2 separate regions of the Homo sapiens genome follow, and region 1 is linked to region 2. Evidence: promoter capture Hi-C in 16 types of primary human blood cells and fetal thymus (Javierre and others, 2016). All regions are on one chromosome and are shown on one strand. Each heading gives the region's core, a stretch centred on a gene start or on the middle of the fragment in contact. The rest is flanking DNA. Distances are from core to core; before and after follow the strand shown.

Region 1 (3,881 bases), core at 114-2,613, 520 kb after region 2:
TTTTCTAATTTACATTAAAATATGTAAATGATAATGCATGCCCACTCACCATAAATTACATCTTGGAAAGCATAAAATATTTTTAAGGTCCATCATAGCTCTAAAATTCTAATATGCTAATTAAGTCTCACAGTTTTGCTATCATAAAAACAAGGGTTAAAAATTATAATCTCATCATCCTGAGTTACGTAATGAGCACCCCCACCATTTTCCACAACAGCTCCTCTATAGTCACAAAGTTGGCTATTTCCCTAATACAATGATTCCTTTACTTTTACTTTAGGGTTCTTACTTATATATAAAAATTACTCAGGCCACTGAATTAAAAACTGGAGATAATAAAAACTAAGAGAAACAGTGCAAATCACTAAATAAAAGGGATATATATGTGTATTTCTCAATTCAACAAAGGTCCAATAACTAAAATAGATTTGCTTCTGGGGATTCTAAACAAAAAGTTGACCCCCATCCCCCATCTTTCTCTTTCCCACTACTCAATTTTCATCTTCCTCAGTCTCCAAAACCTTTTTAAGAAGATACTGGAGCCTCCCTAAGAGAACTGAGTTATGTGTGAGAAACAAGACACAAGGACACGGAAGTGTCACTGGCTGGTACATACTATTTTGGTAAAAATAATTTTTTTAGGGCTCTCGAATTATCAAATTATTACTGCTTTTCATACCTGAACCAGCCAGATGCCATCTTTTGTGTCTTCCACAAGCTCATAGAAGTGCATTTCACCACTGAAATTGGTACTAGAAACCGATTCGGATGCTTCTTCTTCCTTGAGAGCAGAATAGAGCTCACCCTCCATCAAGTCACCTGAAGAAAGGAAAAGAATAACACTAATAAGGTTGCAAGAATCCTAGATTCCCAATTTCAGTAATTCTATTTTTTACACTGTTAAGAATCATGATATTGTACTTTCATTGTATTTTATAGACAAGAACTACTAGAAGAACCTGGATATACCCACTTAGGAGTCATACATTCAATAAATATGTAGTAAGAACTTCCTATGCATCAGGGAAAAGTGAACAAAATAGACAAAAATCCATCTCTTATAGAACAGGGCTTATATTTTAGTGGGGTTATCACATAATTATTAGGAACTTACCAAATTTGTACCACTCCAAAAAGGCACAACTTTCTTAATTATTTAGTTTTATGAATGACACATACAGGCTTCATATACATTTTTAAACAGTATGGCTTATATGCTTCTTACTTAAAAGATGTAGAATTGGGTTCACAGAATTTGCCATCAGCCCTGCTTAAAAGAGCAACAGGGTTTGTATGACTTGGAGGTTAGAACTTTACCTGTTAGACAGAACAAACTCCATATTCATATACAAATTTATATTATAAATTTAGAGCTTGTATCATTAAACAAAAAGGAAAGGAAAACACTAAAATCAAATTATTTTAACTTTCGCCTTAAATATTAAACAGTGAGAAACCAAGTACTGCACCATGATAGCAGCAAAACCATTCACAATAAACACTTAAATTTTAAACTGCTATACCATGACTTTTCTGCCATAAAACGTGTGATTTGAGTCATACTGGGCTGTGCGTCTTAAAGTTAAATGTGGACTTCTAGTACATTCAATGTGCCAAGTATTTTTAGGCCCAAAAGAAGGCAATAATAAATAACAGTCAAAAGAAAAAAAAATGTGTGACCAAATTATTTTCCATAAAAAAATGATGGCTTTGGCAGTTGAGACACTTCTCATCTCTAAACCAAGAGAGTTTATTTATTAGAGATCTTTTACCCTAGTTACTCCACTTCTTCCCCCTATGGTAGAAATAAGAATCGCCATAAACCAGTCAGCAAACAAGGGGCAAGAATAATATACGATTTTATATTTTCTCTAAAGAAACATTTATCACTTCTGCAGAGTGTGTTCCTCTCCTCTACCCTAATAGTGAGATATGAGTTTTATAACCCGCAACCTACAAATATCCAAGTGTTAAACTGCTAGCGAGCTCATACTCTTGTCTATCACGCTACATGTCTATAAGGTACTAAAGAAGGAAAAGATTTGTCTTGTAAAAGATACAGCTGACAAAAATACTTGAAACAACAAAAAAGATAACCATCAGTTTCAGCTGCTTCCCACAGCAACGCAGAAAGCCTTTCTCAAATTACATTCCACTTTCAGGAAGTATATCCAAAGATATACTTTGTGCAGCAGTGAAAAAAATTAACCATATTTCTCACCCAATCCTACCAAAACCAACAATTACTAAAAACACATTCTTTAAGACATTGAATATTCTCTCAGCACTATTTCACGTATATTTCTCAACCCATTAAACAATGCAAGGGTACCTGTGACACAGAAGACAAAAAAAATTTTTCTTTTACACATCCAAGATGCAAATTTTTAAAAATCCTAACAGAAATATAATATAAACTCGAACATGGCAGGCATTTATACAAAATGCTCGCCTTATTTTCACCAAACTTAAAGTCTGAAAAGCTAATACTGTACGGTGTATACTGTCTATATTCAAACTCATGATTTAACATTTAAATCCTAGGCCCAAGTGCCTCTGATAGTAAGTATTCCAAAGATGTGTCCCCACTCTGGGTATCTTATTATTACTATCGTGACAAATATTGCTATTGACAGACAACGTTTTGGAGTTTTTCTTACGTTTTTATGAACTTCAACTGACAAATAATGCTTTCCAGTTTGTAACTAGTTGATATTCCAGAATTTTGAGAAAATCACTCAACTTAGTAAACAACGCTAAGAAGCCACACTTTAAACTGTCATTTTACGATAACCTTAAAAGGATACACCAACACTCCTCCAAATAATTTCAGACTCCTCCTCAAAGCTGGGATCCGCATACTTGATTGTAGGAAGCTTGGACGAAGAAACCTGGGCAGCTTTAACGCTTCCAGGAAAGGCCTCACTCTGGGGGAACAGCCAGGTACCAGGAGGTACAGGTCGTCCCCTCTCCCAGGTGGAGGGGACCCTAGGGGAAGCCCGATACTCGCCTGACTTTTCCACCAGCTCCCGGACATCCTTCTTCTCGGGCAACCCTGAGTAGCCCAACCCCCGGCACTCCAAAATGGTCTTCAGCTTCTTGAAGCTCAGCGCCACCGGATCCACCAGCTGGGTGGCAAAGATGCCAGTTTCATACCACACAATGGCCTCAAAAAACCTGGCCAGGACGAACAGGACCAGGAAATAGAGGAGCAAGAAAAAAAGCTTCAGCCACATCTTCCCTGGAGTTTCCTCTCTTTCCAGAGAGCTCGGAATACGGGAGAGAGAAGGGTCGAGGGCGGGGGCCGCGGCTCGGTGGCAGCTTGGGCGAGGGCCCCGTGTCCACGCGCGGGCCACCCGGCGCCGTCACTGGCCGGCCATCCCCGGCGGGGAAGCAGGTGACGGGATCCGCGCGGGCGCGAGGCGGCGACGAGGGACGCAGAGACGCAGAGCCTCGCGCCGGGCCTCCCAGTCAAGAGCCGACAAAAATAAAGGGGAAAAACTCAAAACCCCCATCCATTAAGCACAGAAAGGAGAGGGGCGCGGGGAGAGCTCGCGGGGAAGAACAAAACGAGGGACGCTTCCCCCGGGGCGGGCACTGACCCAGGTGGCGGGGTCGGCCCTCCGGTGCCGCGATCTCAAGGGGGAGGGGGAGACCAAAAAATAACTCAGATCCGCCCAGGAGGCGGGGATCCGGGCGGCAGGCCGGGGCCCGAGGGGCCGTGGGGGCCGGACTCCCGCGGCCGCGGGTCAGGAGGGCGCGGCGCTCGGCCGGGCCAGGCCCGGGGCCCAGCGTGTTCTGCGCGGGGAGGAGCGGCCGCCGCAACGCCGCGCCCGAAGCCCAGGCCCCAGGCCCCGCCGACCGCCCAGGCTCCGCGA
Region 2 (3,831 bases), core at 60-2,559:
AACTGGGACTACAGGTGCCCGCCACCACGCCCAGCTAATTTTTGTATTTTTAGTAGAGACGGGGTTTCACCATGTTGGCCAGGGATGGTCTCGATCTCCCGACCTCGTGATCCGCCGGCCTCGGCCTCCCAAAGTGCTGGGATTACAGGCGTGAGCCACCGTGCCCGGCCATGTTGAGTTTCTGATATGCATTTAGGCCATGTTGAGTTTTTGATATGCATTTAAGATCTCTGTGTGAAATTCAATTAAAGATGTACAGACAGCTGAACAAATGGGTCTGAAAATCAGGGAAATAAATTTGCGTTGGGGATTTAAATTTGAGACTATAAATCATGAAAGTGGTGAGATTGTCTAGGGACAATATTTACCATGAAGAAAACATTACTAGAATAGAATCTTGAAGAACATCAACATTTAAGGAGTAAAATGAGGTACAGACCTTGCTCACCAATGTGTCATTAACGCCTAGCTTGGTGCCTGGAAAAAACTGGATGCTCAATAAATGTTTGTGAGGTTATAGATCGATAGAGGAAGAGAGGGAGGTAGAAGTATTTGTCATAAAAATAGGAGAACTTGAAGACAAATAAGGTTCTGGAAGAAAGGAAAGTTTCAAGAGAGTGCATTGGAGAATGTCAAATGCTACCTTGATCAAAATGAAGACTAAAGAGAGTTCCCTTGATTTAACAACCAGACCGAGAATATAGCAGGGTCCTAGCAAAGAGAAGTTAACGCCTGAACTGACACTTGAAGGACAATCATTTTACAAACAAGAGGAAACTTACTACGTGCCTAATTAACCATGTCAGGTACACTATGGTTAATTCCACAAATGCTTGTTAGTTAACGAGGAGACTGGCAGATGATAACGCTGCAGACCAGGACCCTCCCCACCCTTATATTCCCCTACCTCAGCGCAAACTCTTTCCCCCAGCACCACCGGCCTCTTATCCAGGCAGTCCACGCCGGCCCAGGAACGTTCCCAGAACTACGGCTCCCAGCAGGACAAGCGCCAGACAAGCCTGGACTCAAGAGGATAGACTGGGCAAAAGCGCTTCTGGGAATCGTAGTTTAGGGCGCCGACCTCAAGATCCAGGCTGGGCACGCTACCCGACCAACTCCTTACTTGAGCTCTTCAGCCGAATACATCCCGAAGGAAATGCCCTGCAGCCGCCGCCAGGGCATGTTCTTGGAGATCAACATCCTCCAGGTCCGTTTTGAATTCCGACACCCCAAGAGACGTTCCACTCACCACCTGACTATTCTTAATTCAACCTCAAGCCCGGAGTCACCACGCGATTCAACGTGCGCTTGCGCGCGGAAGCGGTCGCAGGAACGACATTTACGTGGATGAGATCACTTCTACATGGGGGGGGAACAAATAGTTGTACGACTCTCTGCTCGCTCTTTTGTTTTGAAAACAATCAAAGATATATAAGACATCAAAATAATCATTTAGGAAAATTCCTCCGAGGCAAATCGGGTGTATAGAGCTTTTAGCTTCCGTGACGAAGTCTTTCAAACCATGAGCTTGCAACCTCCCATTTTATGATTGCTTTCGTCTTCTTCCGCTTCAGCCAATAGCGGAGCTGTTCCCTGCTCCCCGCCCACTGCGCCCCACCTTCCTGAAGGTCGAGGCACGCTTTCCCAACATGCTCTGCAGAGAAATCAAAGATGGCGGTTGTATCTGCTGTTCGCTGGCTGGGCCTCCGCAGCAGGCTTGGCCAGCCGCTGACGGGTCGGCGGGCGGGTTTGTGTGAACAGGCACGCAGCTGCAGGTAAGAGACGCTTAGGGTATCCGCGAAGAAGACCGCGGAGTCACCTTAGTCCTATGTTTCCCAGCTGGCTGTGGAAGTAGGCACGATGAAATGGTTTGCTCATGCGCGCCCTTAACGGTCGCGTGCCCTTAAGACCAGGTACGCGGAGGTGGCCCTTTGAAATAGGATTCGCAACGCATTTATTCATTAGAGAAATACTTATTGGTTGCTTGCAATATTCTGTAGTTAACACCATCCGCAAAGCTAGGACCCTGCTCTCATGAAGCTTGCGTTCCAGTGAGTGTGGCTATTAGCAACACTACCCCAAATTAAAAATTATCCGCCATTACTCATTTTAACCCAATCAGGAGGAGCGAGGAGAACGTACAAGATCTTCCCAAATAAAAGGCAGTCTCTGGTCGCCACCGTGGGGACTTTGGCTAAAGAAGTTATCAGGTTTTCGTAAAAGCAGAAAAGTCTAAAAGATCTGACTATGCCCTTTTGATCTGTGATAGTTATAGCTTGGAACATGTATGACCTATCTGTGTAATTTTTTTTTCACTCAGTACAAACAGTGGCATTGTGGGAATATGAGAGGCAGTAATTTGTAGTGAAAACTTGCTAAAAGCCTAATTTTAGGTTTAGTGTTTGCCATTCACTTAATTGGATGATAATAGACAGATTTCCTCATCTGCAGACTAGAGTTGGTAATAACCATCCGAAAAGTTTGTGAGGTATAAGTGGGGTATGTAATTTACAATATGTTTTTATATGTACTCTCCCTTAGTTCCCCTCAAGAAAGAGAAACCACTCCATCTGATACTGCAGAAACCTTTGTGCTGCCATTCAATGCCAGTCCTCCGTTTCCTGGTAGCCATCGTTAGCATTTTTCTACTCATTTTCTTTGCCTGAAGCAGAATCTCTTCCTCAGCATCCGTTCTCAAAATAACTGTGATCTCTGTTTTAAGGTCATGAGAAACAAATAGTGTGACTTGAAAGAGTTGATCTCAGAAACTTGAAAGAGTTGATCTCTTTCTGAAATGTCCTTAACGTAGAGGGGTATTCTTGTTTTAAATGATACCTGAAACCAGATACTACTGGAGGAAGTATCTGTCTGTGCAATCACATCTTGACAATTTTCTGAATGTTACTGATGCCATTTAGTAAGGGGAAACACAAGATAATACTAACCGTCACATTATCTGTGGTGTGTTGACTGTGTTTTTAGTGTGATCAGAACACTTAAACAGAACACTTAAAAACTCAGTCATGGGCCAATGATTCTATATTTTGGTTTAAAAAGGATTTCATATTGAACCTCTGAAAATAGAAAATATCAGCAATTCCAAGTCTAAATCAGGCCTTATGTATTTGGTACATTCTTGATTGTTGAAAGAAGTGGAATGAGAAGCCATGGGTCATCTTCCCTATGTTGTAATTGCTTTAAGTGAGGTAGTCCTTTCTGATCAGGGCAGTATCTGTATAGAAGCAAGAGCTCACTGAATTGTTCTTTTAAACATCATAGTGTTTTGGGTTCCTGAAGTTGAAAGTTCTTCATTTCAAACCAGATTGTTCAAGTGCTATTAAAAACTTTCCTCCCTCTCTGCCATTTATGTAATGAGATTGCTTGCTTCCAAAACTTTTGTCTAGCCGGGCATGGTGGCATATGCCTGTAGTCCTAGTTACTCAGGAGGCTGAAGCAGGAGGGTCACTTGAGCCCAGGAGTTCAAGGGTTCAGTGAGCTATAATTGCACTACTTCACTAAAGGCTAGGCAATGGAGCAAGACCCTGTCTCTAAAAAAAAAAAAAAAAAAGTTTTGACAGTCTTGTCCATATCTTGTATCCATTCCTTAATGATATTGAACATGTGTACAGACTGTCTTCTCAGCGTTCATTGACATGAGTTATCCAGTTTAATCCGTGATAATTGGAGAATTTGGGCTCAAAGTACACATAGGTGGAGGTGAGCTGGGTACTTCATTAATGACTATTAGATTTAAGGCTTTTGTTTTTTTGCAGATTTTATTCTGGTAGTGCAACCCTCTCAAAGGTTGAAGGAACTGATGTAACAGGTATA

What was found. The method cuts DNA at HindIII sites, captures the fragments that hold promoters and counts their contacts. A CHiCAGO score of 5 or more calls a contact.
Region 1: a fragment that was not itself captured here is called in contact with the fragment with the promoter of POLR1A in region 2 in 1 of 17 cell types (fetal thymus); the score reaches 5.3 in fetal thymus.

Annotation. Positions count from the first base shown.
Region 1 is chr2:86,619,648-86,623,528 of GRCh38, forward strand. RNF103-CHMP3 (RNF103-CHMP3 readthrough) reads right to left here. Exons shown (of 8, transcript NM_001198954.1): 3 at 683-822. The coding sequence starts at 814. RNF103 (ring finger protein 103) reads right to left here. Exons shown (of 4, transcript NM_005667.4): 1 at 3,014-3,881; 2 at 683-822. The coding sequence starts at 3,239. Among named protein-coding and RNA genes, the nearest start is that of RNF103, 2.3 kb to the right of the region's middle. RefSeq lists silencers at 3,039-3,088, 3,269-3,348, 3,619-3,881. The HindIII fragment of the contact is 3,027 bases long and covers 1-2,877 here.
Region 2 is chr2:86,104,577-86,108,407 of GRCh38, forward strand. POLR1A (RNA polymerase I subunit A) reads right to left here and starts at 1,310. Exons shown (of 34, transcript NM_015425.6): 1 at 1,124-1,310. The coding sequence starts at 1,200. PTCD3 (pentatricopeptide repeat domain 3) reads left to right here and starts at 1,659. Exons shown (of 24, transcript NM_017952.6): 1 at 1,659-1,775; 2 at 3,774-3,826. The coding sequence starts at 1,672. RefSeq lists enhancers at 830-919, 1,120-1,329, 1,710-1,969. The HindIII fragment of the contact is 4,349 bases long and covers 1-2,038 here.